Regions from separate parts of the Homo sapiens genome. Here region 1 is linked to region 2. Evidence: promoter capture Hi-C in 16 types of primary human blood cells and fetal thymus (Javierre and others, 2016). All regions are on one chromosome and are shown on one strand. The core of a region is centred on a gene start or on the middle of the fragment in contact, and the rest is flanking DNA. Distances in the headings are between cores, read along the strand shown. Region 1 holds the start of PPME1 (protein phosphatase methylesterase 1). Region 2 holds the start of XNDC1N (XRCC1 N-terminal domain containing 1, N-terminal like).

The links. Contacts are between HindIII fragments. The CHiCAGO score rates a contact against its expected background, and 5 or more counts as called.
Region 1: a fragment that was not itself captured here is called in contact with the fragment with the promoter of XNDC1N in region 2 in 1 of 17 cell types (monocytes); the score reaches 5.1 in monocytes.

Annotation. Positions count from the first base shown.
Region 1 is chr11:74,171,187-74,177,703 of GRCh38, reverse strand. It overlaps PPME1 (protein phosphatase methylesterase 1), which reads right to left and starts at 6,415. Exons shown (of 14, transcript NM_016147.3): 1 at 6,182-6,415. The coding sequence starts at 6,282. RefSeq lists enhancers at 5,621-6,517, 6,321-6,517. The HindIII fragment of the contact is 971 bases long and covers 4,318-5,288 here.
Region 2 is chr11:71,925,266-71,932,354 of GRCh38, reverse strand. It overlaps XNDC1N (XRCC1 N-terminal domain containing 1, N-terminal like), which reads left to right and starts at 3,761. Exons shown (of 6, transcript NM_001375847.2): 1 at 3,761-3,990. It overlaps RNF121 (ring finger protein 121), which reads right to left and starts at 3,309. Exons shown (of 9, transcript NM_018320.5): 1 at 3,231-3,309. The coding sequence starts at 3,293. XNDC1N-ZNF705EP-ALG1L9P (XNDC1N-ZNF705EP-ALG1L9P readthrough) reads left to right here and starts at 3,761. Exons shown (of 11, transcript NR_172895.1): 1 at 3,761-3,990. RefSeq lists an enhancer at 3,619-3,928. The HindIII fragment of the contact is 13,024 bases long and covers 3,496-7,089 here.

The DNA.
Region 1 (6,517 bases), core at 3,554-6,053, 2.2 Mb before region 2:
TTTTTCTGGCACTAGTCTATGGGATTAGAAAGTTTATTTGTGAGAAAAAAACAAGAGGAACCACGAAAATCCTCAAAATGAATGAGGGGTAAACAACCTCTACCACCCATCAAAACATATTAATAAATCCTCTAATTAAAAGTACAGTAGTGGCACGTAAAAGAAACTCCACAGACCCGGATTTATATAGAAATTTGGCATATGACAAAGGTGTCATTTTAATCAGTGAGAAAGAAGACTTTTTTTTTTTTTTTTGAGACAAAGTCTCACTCTGTGTCCCAGGCTAGAGTGCAGGGGCATTATCTTGGCTCACTGCAACCTTTGCTTCCCGGACTCAAATGATCCTCCAGAGTAGCTGGGACTACAGGCACACACCACCACACCCAGCTAAATTTTTGTGATTTTTGTAGAGAAGAGGTTTCACCATGTTGTCCAGGCTGGTCTCCAACTCCCAAGCTCAAGTGGTCCACATGCCTTGGCCTCCCAAAGTGCTGGGATTACAGGCATGGACCACTGAGCCTGGCCAGGACTATTTCTTTATTGTAGTGAAATTTACGTAATGGGTAAAGGACTAAAAAATTTAATAAATGATGAAAACAACTAGATAGCCTTTGGATAAAAATAAAATGTCTTCTTTTCCTCACTTTGCATATCAAGATAAACTTCAAATGGATTAAAAAAAAATTGGCTCATGCCTGTAATCCCAGCACTTTGGAAGGCTGAGGTGGGTGGATTACCTGGGGCCAGGAGTTCAAGAGCAGCCTGGCCAACATAATGAAACCCCGTCTCTACTAAAAATACAAAAATTAGCTGGGTGTGGTGGTGCATGCCTGTAATCCCAGCTACTTGGGAGGCTGAAGCAGGAGAATCGCCTGAACCCGGGAAGTGGAGGTTGTAGTGGGCCAAGATCACACCACTGCACTCCATCCGGCCTCGGTGACAGAGCAAGACTCTGTCTCAAAAAAAAAAAAAAAAAAAAAAAGGACACTACACAGGTACCAGGAAAAAATATAAATGATTCCTTTATAACCCAAAAAAAGGAAAAGCCTTTCTGTGACTCAAGATCCAGAAGCAATACATGCTGGGAGGAAGGGAAGATGCTAATGAGTAACGAGTTTATGGGAGGATGAAAATGTTCTGCAATTAGTGGTGGTAATTGTACAACTGAGTGAATATACCAAAAATCACTGAATTGTACATTTAAAAGAGTGAATTCTATGGCATATAAATTTAACTTTTTAAAAATCTAATGAAAAAATAAAAAAAAAAACAGAAATACTGGGATTTGATTATTTTAGTAACTCAATTTGTGACCTTGAGCAAATCACTTCACTTTGCCCTTTATTTCCCCATCTGTGTGAATAGCTCATTAAAGCCTTCCTAAGAGGCCTGATATCCATAATAAATTTAAGAAGATGGATGAAAGACTATCTAATCAGATATGAATAAACATACAGCTTGTGGGGACAAAAAAGCTGATAACATAAGAAACTGAAAGGAGAGCTTCCACATAAACTATGAACCTTCTTCACAGTTCTCAATGTATAATTATCTACTAGCTATCATTCTTTAAGAGCTTATGTGTCAGTGTCAGGAACTATAAGTGCTTTTTATGTATTATCTTATTCTCACAGCACTCTCAGGTAAGCAGAAGTATTCTCATTTTAGAGATAAGAAAATAGACTATGAGAAGTTAAATGACTCGACCAATGTAAATACCTAAGTTGGGCTTCAAACTTAGATCTTTGTCACTTCAAATATCAAACCCTTCAATGCAAGCTATAGAAAGAACAATGGACTAAAAATACGAAGTCCTGGGTTTGAATGTTGTTCCTGCCACATAATGATTCTGTGATCTTAGGCAAGTCAATGAACATTTCAGTTTTCTCATTTATTAAAAGAAAATATTAACTCCTGCCCTAGTTTACCTCATAGAATATAAAAAGGGACTACTATATACATGTCAGTTAAATCACTACAGAGCTGGGCATGCTAGCATGTATCCTCAGTCCTACCTACTCAAGAGGATGAAGTGGGAAGACTGCTTGAGCCCACGAGTTTGAGGTTGTAATGCACCAAGATTATGCCTGTGAAAAGCCACTGTACTTCAGCCTGGGCAACACAGCAAGACTCTATCTCTTGCAAAAGAAAAAAAAAGGAATTTAAGAGATAATAATAGAAAAGTAGAACTTTTTTTTTTTTGAGATGGAGTTTCGCTCTTGTTGCCCTGGCTGGAGTGCAATGGCGCGATCTCGGCTCACCACAACCTCCGCCTCCCAGGTTCAAGTGATTCTCCTGCCTCAGCCTCCTGAGTAGCTGGGATTACAGGCATGTGCCACCACGCCAGCTAATTTTGTATTTTTAGGAGAGACGGTGTTTTTCTATGTTGGTCAGGCTGGTCTTGAACTCCCGACCTCAGGTGATCCACCCGCCTCGGCCTCCCAAAGTGCTGAGATTACAGGCATGAGCCACCACACCTGGCCAAAAAGTACAACTACTGATAAACCAAAAACACGTTGAATAATGAATGGCTTTAATATTTTATAGTTCCTCTAATAGTAATAGTATATACGAAAGCAGTGACTTTCAAAAGATACTTCTCTCAAGCACACCAGGGGTGCAAAGCAAATAGGGATCTCAAATCTACTTTAGTCAGAGTAGCTCTAAAAGCTTTAATAAAGAAGTTCAAAACCACTGTTTTTGGCAACATCCATTGGCATCTATTAAAAGGAAGAGTGACACCAGGATTTCAGGCCTTACCCAAGAGAAAATATTAGTGTACTGAAAAGTGAATGGATTCTAGAGACTAAACTTAGATTGAATCCTAGCTCTGCTACCTACTAGTTGGGTTACTTTTAATCTCTGGGTCTGAATGTCTTTACCCACAATGCAGGAAAATATTCACCATGCAGGTCTGTGGACACATTAAATAACATAAAGTTACCATTACAATGTCTGGCACACAGTACTTACTTTAAAAATTGCTATTATTAAATTATCCAACAATACTTTGGAATTACTAAATCTAATCTGAAAAACTGAATTATGGAAACTCATGAAAAATCACCAACTCAGAATATGCACCCTGAATATGCAAACATGCCTAAATAATGTTTAGTGAAATTGAAGGCAAGAGATCATGAAAAATAGTTAAGAGTAAGCCACACAAGAGACTATCAAGAGAACAGGACTAACTTGTGAGTAACATAGATAGAGTGGAAGAATGGAAGTTAAGAAAAAAGCAAGTAAGCATAAGGAGACATAAAGAATGCTTTGAAATTGGTGTGAGACTTCATAAATTACGACTGAAGAAAAAGACTGAATCCTAGATTATATGCAAATGAGTAAGATACACAACTCAAAATAAGTATCCCCAGATGACAATTATGACTCCAAAATACACAATGGGTCTCACAGTCAAGAGACCCAAGTCCTAGTCCTTAACGGCCCTACCGCTAAGCTTCTAGGGTACCTTAGGAATATCTGAGTCTCAGTTCCCTCATTTATTAATACATTCCCTTATAGAATACAGAACTCTCTGAATATTGGGTTCCTCAACTACATGAAGTGGTGAAATGAGACCATGTCTATGCTTTCTCTCAGCTTTATGATTCTAAGGAGAAAGAGAATCTATATTATTACTACCATGAGACTTAGATGAAGCCTGCTTATATACCAATAAAGTAGAAAAGAAAGATACGGGAAAATAAGCCATTTGAGGACCACACAAATATTCGCCAATATATGCTCTTCTCTTCACAATACTATCATAAAGAAAGGCCTTTCTAAAGAACTTTCTTTTCCAGGATAAGCAGTTAACCTAAACCAAGAAGACCAAAGCATCTTTTTAAAAAGGTAAGTTGTCCAGGCACAGTAGCTCACTCCTATAATCCCAGTACTTTGGGAAGCCAAGTGGGGCAGATCACTTAAGGCCAGGAGTTTAAGACCAGCCTGGCCAACATGGCGAAATCCCCTCTCTACTAAAAATACAAAAATTAGCCGGGCGTGGTGGTGCATGCCTGTAATCCCAGCTACTTGGGAGGCTGAGGCACAAGAATCACTTGAGCCCGGGAGGTGGAAGTTGCAGTGAGCCGAGATTGTGCCACTGCACTCTAGCCTGGGCAACAGAGTGAGACTCTGTCTCTAAAAAAAAATAAAATGAAAAGTAATAAAAAATAAAAACGATAAATTACTAACAATTATACAATCTTCTAATCAGCAGATTTTCCTTTTTTTTTCTCTCAGTATCTTCATTCAGTTCTTCAATCTTCAGAGAACTTGTTTCTCCAAGATGAGAAGCTGAGCTCTAATTAAGCTTATCTAAGGAATGTATAATTATTAAAAATCTGATTTTCTTATGTATTTGTATAGAAGGGTGCTGGTATACTGAAAAATCAAATTTATTTTAAGAAAGGCAGCAACTAAGATATTTAACAACAATTAATGTTACATTAATATTAAACTCCAGGTTAGTTTTCCCAAATAATGTTATGGGTCAGTTTCCAAATTCTCTTTATTCATGTTATAGTCCAACTTTTCTGTCTTCCAAAGCCAAAACAATCTTCACTTTACCTTCTATGTAGCCTTCTACCTCTATTGTGCGTCTATCTCTCTATCTCCTCCTGCTAAAGTTTTCTCATTTTTCTACTGCGTATCATAGCAGGTCTCCACTCAATTCTTAGTTTCCTTCCCTGGTTTTTCCACCCATTTTTCCCATTCCTTTACCCCACTGTTTTATAGGATTCTCCTTTCTTTTCATCCCTAGGACTTACTGTCACAGTACTGCATCTCCTACTCTCGCCTCCTTTTTGATAAGTTTTTACACATATTACTTCTTCAGAACCTAAGGTTTCTCTTCTGTAGTCCTTTTTCAAAGAATATCTACCAATTCATCTCTAGAATCCCAAATATACTCTGGAGCCCTCATACCTAAGTATCTTTCCTACTCCTTTTCTCTTTACAGTCACTAATTCCCAGAATCCTGTTTGAAACTACAAATATCCCCTCAAAACCAAATGCCTATTCAATTCTCTCCACTTTCCAGCAATTACTTCTCCCATGTTCACCTCATTCTTTCTCCTCGGCCCAAGTATCCCCTAACCTGGCACAAGCCATTTAACGATCTAAAATTCCAAAACCTATCTCTTCTACATGGCTCTCCTTCCTTTCCAGCAAACTATTTCTCGAACTCCCAATGCTTCACTAATTCAAAGTCTTAGGCCAGTACGTCGCTTCCCTCAGATCTACTAGCCCAGCAAAAACTGATTGCCCAAATCTTCCTCTAAGCTTCCCAGACCTTACAACTGCAGCACTTCCATTCACCAAACCGTATTTATAGTCATCTCTCAATCTTTAGAGCCTATGGTCACTCTGTAAATTCTTCAGTTCTCTCCTTCTTCTCTCTCCCTTATCCTGTCCAGCTTCTCACTCTGTAAATTCTTCAGTCCTCTCCTTCTTCTCTCTCCCTTATCCTGTCCAGCTTCTCAGCACATTCCTACTACCCTTAACAATCTTCGTGGCTATGTTCTCCACCTTACCTTAGGCCTACTCCCTAAACTTTCTCATTCTCCCTTAAGAGACCTAATCTCACCTCTCATTCGCTGAATCTGTCTTTACACCTCTGGGAATTCTCTAGAATCGTCTGCTTCCTAGTTCTCCTCTTTCCTTCTCCAGCCCTGTCTCGAGTGTTTTCTACCCCCCTCAGCTTTTCTAGTATCTAGTTCTCACAGTGCAGATATTAGAACTCTGATAATATCTACTCCTCCCAAACCTTTCCTTAGTTGTTGGCCCAATTCCCCTCAACTTTTCTCTCAGTCATTCCCCACTTCCCTCCACCTTCCCTGGCCGATTCTCCTCCACCTTTGTCACCGTTCTACTCCCTTTTCTAAGCCTCCTTTATTGTGGAAGTGATTCTCAGATCCCTTATGTTAGTCTCTCAGCTTCCCCAACCTTTGCCTCATTCCCCTCTCCCTTCAACAACGTTATTTTTCCTCCAATTTCTATTGACTTGGCGCCTCCCCTAGTACCCCAATCTGCCTTCTACTCCATCTAAATATCTCCAGGCCGCCAACATTTTCTCCTATCAGTAGACTCCTTTCCCGTGCCTCTATGAACGCCCAGAGATACCATTCTCCAACGGCTGGGGCCTGGCCCATAGGGAGAAGGGGTATGGGTCACGTACCCCATTCGCATCTTGGCTCCGCTCTGACTGCCCCCGCTGCCGGGTAGAGGTGGGCGAGAGGGAAGGCGGCCGAGGTGCATGCTCTTTTCGAGGGCCGACATCGAGGGGAGGCTGCACGCACGTAGTCAAACAGTAGGCGAAGCTTCGTCCCACGTTGAGTGTGGCCCAACCGGTCACGACTCGCTCCCCTAACGACGCCCTGTCGCCTTTGGACAGCACCCAGCTACCCGTAGCACCGCCTACCGCCCACCGGCTCCGTAAACTCCACCCACTCGCTTCAGCGCTTCCACCGGAAGTGCGCAACAGCACTCATACAAAGGAAGCTGGGTAACAGAG
Region 2 (7,089 bases), core at 2,512-5,011:
AATCCTAGGAAAGTTCTTTAGCCTCTCTAGCCTCAGTTTCATTTATAAAATGGGGTTAACTCCATCTAATTCACATGCCTACTGTTAATAATAAATGAGATGATGCAGGTAAAGGGTTTTAAACAGAGGCTGGTGTATGGTTAAGAGCTGAATAAATAGTAGCCTTTTCTACTGGTAGCTCTTTTCCTAAACCCTCTTTTCTATTTATCCCTCTAAAGAAAGAAGCCATTAGGAAAGCCTAAATTACGTCTCAACTTCTAGAGAAAGTATTAATGAAACCAGACAAAAAAAGAGAAAAGGAATATGAATGAATGCCATTCCAGACTACGTATCATGCTAATGGCATCTAATATTGGAAAACATAGGTATAATATCCTGAATATACACAGCGTGTAACTTCTTTCCAAAGAAGTAGAAAAGTACACCAACTCCATCTTAGCCAGGCTACCCATTACCCAATTATAATCTCGGCTCCACATTAGAGTCTATCAATAAAACAGAAAGTGCTACACAGGGGGCAATATTAATGCCACATGTAAACCACTGCTCTTTTGTAAACCCAACCTTTTTCAGCTCAAACCCATCTCTATCATAAAGACTTTACTGACTCCCCCTAGCTGACTCAAGTGCTTGATCTCTTGTGCCCCACTGCATTTGTTACATGCCTCCATTACAGCAATTATCTAGTATTATAATACGCTATTTGCATGTCTCTTCACTCGACTGTAAATTGGTAAAGATCCTGTCTTACTCATCTTTGAATTATCAGTGCATAACACACAGTAGACCCCATAATTACATATTAAAGACGGATTTCACCTGCTGTTTCACAAGCTAAGGCTGCAAAGAAACAGCTGGGGAGACATTAGTAGAAACCTGAATACCAACTAAGGTCTGCCAGACCAGACCTCTGTTATTTTTGGAGCTTGAAGGGATGACTGTTCTGCTTCTCAGAGCTTACTTTCTCAAACATACAACAACAAAAAAGATAGAACCAGTCCACACGGAATTTCCAGACAACAGATTATACCTTTTCTCAGGAAATGAAACAAGTAACAAGGTTCCTGGAATGAATGCTAGTGGTTTCATATAAAGTTAACTCCTATGCATGATACTCTGTAAAGTCTATTATACTACTAGACGCTCTCAAGTCCTTCAAGCAATAAAGAAAAGCTAAGAAACAAAAATCAAACATGTCTTAATGAAAATGTTATTTTCTTAGCCGGGCGCGGTGACTCACACCTGTAATCCCAGCACATTTGGGAGGACAAGATCGGCGGCTCACCTGAGGTCAGGAGTTCGAGGCCAGCCTGACCAACATGGAAAAACCCTGTCTCTACTAAAAATACAAAAAATCAGCCGGGCGTGGTGGTGCATGCCTGTAATCCCAGCTACTCAGGAGGCTGAGGCAGGAGAATTGTTTGAACCCAGAAGGCAGAGGTTGTGGTGAGCTGAGATTGCAATACTGCACTCCAGCCTGGGCAATAAGAGCGAAACTCCATCTCAAATAAAAAAAGAAAATGTTATTTTCTCCTCTGCCAAAACTTCTGCTGTTTATCTCAATGAACCCTGACATATGTAACTACAGCTTTGAGATATACGTAATTGTCTCAAGGGAGAGCCCATGACTAACAAACCTTAAATAAGAACTTCAATACAGTATTTACCCTTTCCAAAGTGTCTTCAAATATATCTCACTGAACCACAGCCAACTGTAATCACAGAAATGTAAAAGCTAGAAGGGGTCTTGGAGGTCATTTCCACAACCACTCCACCTAACCAACCAACTGGTATCCAAACACCTGTAGTCTCTAGTGATTGGGAGGTAGAAGACTACAACACTTCTTTAAAAATCCCCCTGCTGTGATCACCTGTCAATTTCTCAGTCCCTTCCTCCCACCTTAATGATCCCAATCAGGTAATCCAACTCCTCCAACTCATCCCACTACCAGGCAACAGTCTTATTGCTTCCCAAGTCCACTTCTCCCTTTCTCTGAACCTCATCTTCAATCATCCCCAATCCTCCCCACTCTTCCCACACCCAACACACAGCAAGGGGCCTCTAAGATTCTGACCCCTCAGAGATCTCACTGGTTCTATCTCTGACAACCAATCCCCTTCCTCCTATTCCTGTGATGTCTTTGCCCATATGCTGGCATGTGCAAGATCACAAACACCACTAGCTATCAATGTCTCCATGGCTTCAGAATCTTTTCACCTCTGTCTCTGCTTCTCTGCCCTGTCCCTTCATTCCTTTCACACTCAACATCTCCTTCCTCCTAGTGATTCCTTCAAGGACCACTGGTATTTTAATACACCAGTCTTTAAATGCCTATTAGATAGGTAAAGGGAACATACAATCTCAAGGAGCTCACCTTCAAGGAACTCATAAATCCAGAAGAAGAGAGAGACACTTATTTATCGTTTAAAACTCAGCAACTCCGGGAAGCCTTCCCTATCCCAAGCTGAAATGTTGCACACTTCTCAGTGCCACCATTATATCTCTAATGCAATGACTAGTCTTCTTGTCTGTCTCCCACCACTAGACTGTGGGCTCTTCAACGGAGGGGCCCCTTGTCTCCCTAGCACCTGGCCCAGAACCCGGAGCAAAAGTCATAATGTTTATTAAGTGAATAAATGCATGAATTCCGGCATACAATCATTTATTCATCCACTTGTTCCTTCATTCGTTGGCCAAAACTTTACTGAGCATGCATTAGATACAAAGTCTTAGAATGGAACGATAAATAAAACAGTTCCAACTTTAAGATAACTCAAAGCTATACTACTAGTGGATTAGCACTCTTTCCCGGTCTGTGTCCCCAACCCCCACCCTAGGCTTAGACAGAGTCCTCTCCCACAGTAGAAGCCCAGCCTTCCCCTGAAGAAATTCACGTCCCTCCAACTCAAACTACCTCTTAGCCCTTCGGTCCTACCCTAAGACACCCAGCTAGTAATCACAAAATCTTAACACCCCCACCCCTCCGACCTCTCTCTCTGTCCTCCATCTTCACCCTTGAGGCTAATGCAAGTCTTCTACTCCCAAGGCCGCCTCGGAGTCCCCAAGTCAGGAGTGCCTCTGACTTCGCTCTCCACGCACCCGCCCCCTAGTCAGCTCCTTCCCTCTCAGGATCTTTCCCTTCTCTCCTAAGACCCCCACCTCCCGATACCTCACTGCCCCTCCCCTCAGTCTCAGGTTGAGTCTCTCCTCGTCTCTCAACTCCGCTTACCTCATCCAGCTCCCGTTCCCCAGCAGCACCACCTCCAACCTCCACCTCCACCACTGCCGCCATCTTCACGGCTCGCCCCCTCACCGCAGTCCCCGCGCGAGCCAGCTGCTTCCGCTGCTCAAGTGCTCCTAGCCAATCGGCGGCTCGGACTCCAGCAGAGGGGGCGGGGCATCAACACAGGCGGAGACTGTCAGGGATCAGGAGGTTATCTACTTGCTGCACGTTTCAGGGTCAAGGAGAGGGGAGTACCGTGCCCTTGCAAGCTTCAGCAAGGGAGCGTTCTTGGAAAATGAGAAATTTGAATCGCATTATTTTCAGTGCAACTATTTAACCAATTCTTCCCTTTGGAGAGCCAAATGGGAGCGTTCCAAAACGGGCAACTTTCGCGACGCTCCCTCAGTCTGGGCTCCAAGGAGCGAGACGTGGGGACTAGGAACTACGTTTCCCAAGCTGCACTGAGGCTGACCCGGAAGTTTAAATTCCGCTCCCTCCACGAAAGAGTTGTAGTGAGTGAAAATAAATATTAAAACACACGGAAATGTATTTTCCTGGCTGCAGCACCTGCCATCTTGCCTCGGTAGGACTCATTTTCAAAAACAGCAGCTTCTTGAAGCCCCAGAACGCATTCCTGTGCTACGGAAGACGGAAGAGTAGCTCTCGGGGTCAGAAGGCGAAGGTCAGAAGGCCGAATTGGCGGGAGAATAGGTTTGGTGGTCCGAGATCCGAGGCAACGGTGGCTCCTCGAGGTCCACGGTCCCGGGTGAGGGGCGTTGGGATTTGTTGATGGGGAGGGGAGTGGCCGAGAGGGAGGAGGGTGGCCATCAAGGAAATGAACTGAGCAGCCTGTTCCCGATGAGCTGTGAAAGCAGCGGTGCGGCTTGAGCTCCCGAAACTGAGAGCTGAAGAGCCTTGCGGGACCTCCAGGGCACCCACATTCCGCGTCTTACTTAGGCTGTCATGCCAGTTCACACACCTCGGCACACTTTTCTAACCCACATCCTGCGGCCCCAGCTTCTGCCTTACCCTCCTTTTTATACACCATTCACTGTCCCACCCCTACGTATACCTTCATAACTGATTTTTCAGCAGCCGGTGAACTCGATACCTTGCAAGCCTGTAGCCCCAGCTCACACGCCTCTGGGCGTCCGCCTGGATCTGTCTGGTGAATGGAACTAGGATGGCCTGTGAGCCCACAGAACGTCTAGAAAAGTCAGCTTTACATTGGGACCAACAGAAAATTACAGGGAATTATCTACATCATCCACAGGCATCCCATTTACTTAAAAATAATCATTTTTATTTTGTGACACTTAATACGGAGAATATTGTAAATACTGTACACCCATCACCCTAAATTGACTACTGGCATTATGATTTATTTGCTTATTTTTTAAAAGCTAGATAATACAATAAAAGTTAAACTTACCTGTTTTTTCTACTCTCAAGCCTATTACCCTCTCATCCTCTCCAGAAGCAACTATTATGAATTAGAATTAGCTTGTGTTCTCCCAGTCCATTTTTAATAATTATATGTAGCCATGACTATATAGTATTGTATTGTGTTTCATTTTGTTTTTTAATCTGAGTGCTTTTTTTTTTTCTTTGAAACGGTGTCTCGCTGTGTTACCAAGGCTGGAATGCACTGGTTCAATCTGGGCTCACTGCAGCCTCCGCCTACTGGGTTCAAACGATTCTCATGTCTCAGCCTCCCAAATAGCTGGGACTACGTACGCGCCACCACGCCTGGGGAAATTTCATATTTTTAGCAGAGATGGGGTCATGGCCATGGTCTCGAACTCCTGACCTTAAGTGATCCACCCGCCTCGGCCTCCCAAAGTGCTGGGATTACAGGTGTGAACCACTGTGCCCAGCCTGAGTGATACAGGGTCCGGCTCTGTCGCCCAGGCTGGAGTGCAGTGGCGTGATAACTGCTCACTGTAGTCTCATCTCCCAGGCTCAAGCAATTCTCCCACCTCAACCTTGTGAGTACCTGGGACTATAGGCATGTGCCACCACACCTGGCTAATTTTTAAAAATATTTTGTGGAGATGGGGTCCCACTATGTTGCTGGTCTTGAACTCCTGGGTTCAAGCAATCCTCCTGAGCCTCCGCCTCCCAAAGTGTTGAGATTACAGGCGTGAGCCACTGTACCCAGCCTTTTAGGTATAATTATTTGTCTTTTATTTTATTTTATTTTATTTTATTTTATTTTATTTCATTTTTTGAGACAGAATCTCACTTTGTCACCCAGGCTGGAGTACAGAGGGGTGATCTTGGCTCACTGCAACCTTTGCCTCCCGGGTTCAAGTGATTCTCCTGCCTCAGCCTCCTCAGTAGCTGGGATTACAGGCATGTGCCACCACACCCAGCTAATTTTTGTATTTTGAGTAGAGACAGGGTTTCACCATGTTGGCCAGGCTGGTCTCAAACTCCTGACCTCAAGTGATCCACCCACGTCAACCTCCCAAAATGCTGGGATTACAGGTGTGAGCCACCACGCCCAGCCTAGGTATAATTTTTTAGATACGTTGTGAGGTAGGGATCTACTTTTATTTTTCTTCACATTGTCAACCAATTTCCTGAACATCATTTATTACTTTATTGTTTCTGACAGAATCATGATGCTGCTCTGAAGTGTGGGAGATCATGAACATGACAAAAATCCACATCCTCAAAGAGCTTGCTACTTAGTGAGAAGGCATACAGGGTAAACGAGTAATTACCAAAAAATGGCAGCAACAGTTTTTGTAAGGGAAGGAGTTCTCAAAGAACTTAATCTTGTGAGAACTACAAGCAGTTTGATTGTCAGGATTGCCAAACCAAGAGTGTTTATTTATTTATGTATTTATTTATTTTTGAGACAGGGTTTCACTGTCTCCCAGGCTGGAGTGTGATGGTGCAATCTCAGCTCACTGCAACCTCTGCCTCCCAAGCTCAAGCAATCCTCCTGCCTCAGCCTCCTGAGTAGCTTGGACTCCAGGCACACGCCACCACATTTGGCTAATTTTTTTTTTTTTCAGAGATGGGATTTCGCCATGTTGCCCAGGCTGATCTTGAACTCCTGGGCTGAAGATATCCACCCTCCTCGGCCTCCCAATGTGCTGGGATTACAGGCCTGAGCCACCATGCCTGGCCCAAGTGTTCATTGATGATGAGAGATGGGCTTTTCGCATCAAATCACAAAAATATGCTGTGAGTTTCTTCAAAACAGAGACTATGTCTTTTTATTTATTTTTATTTTTTTTGAGACGGAGTCTTGCTCTGTTGCCCAGGCTAGAGTGCAGTGGCGTGATCTCGGCTCATTGCAAGCTCCGCCTCCCAGGTTCACGCCATTCTCCTGCCTCAGCCTCCCGAGTAGTTGGGACTACAGGCCCCCGCCACCACGTCCGGCTAATTTTTTGTACTCCTGACCTCGTGATCCGCCCACCTCAGCCTCCCAAAGTGCTGGGATTACAGGCGTGAGCCACCGCGCCTGGCTCAGAGACTATGTCTTATTTTTATTATTTTTATATCTCTAAAATCTAGCAGAAGAGGAAAGATTTTTGTGTGCCCAGTGAGTTCCCGTAGTGGGAATAGTGAGCTTTAATTAATCTGAGCCCTAGAGAGGAGACTCAGGACTCATCTTTCATTCTTCTGTCTTTGAAGCCTTAGCCGCATACTGGCTGTGGCCTGTGAGGACTGCTTGATGTTTAGATGGCATTCACTAAGAGCTTGTTACTGCTATTGCTGCAATCTACCCCATTTTGAATGCTTTATGACTGTGAGCCCTTTGGAGCACAATTTTTATGGTCATTCGTTCAACAGACATTTGCAAATCAGGAACTATATTCTCCCTTTTACATTGGGTACACAGAAATGA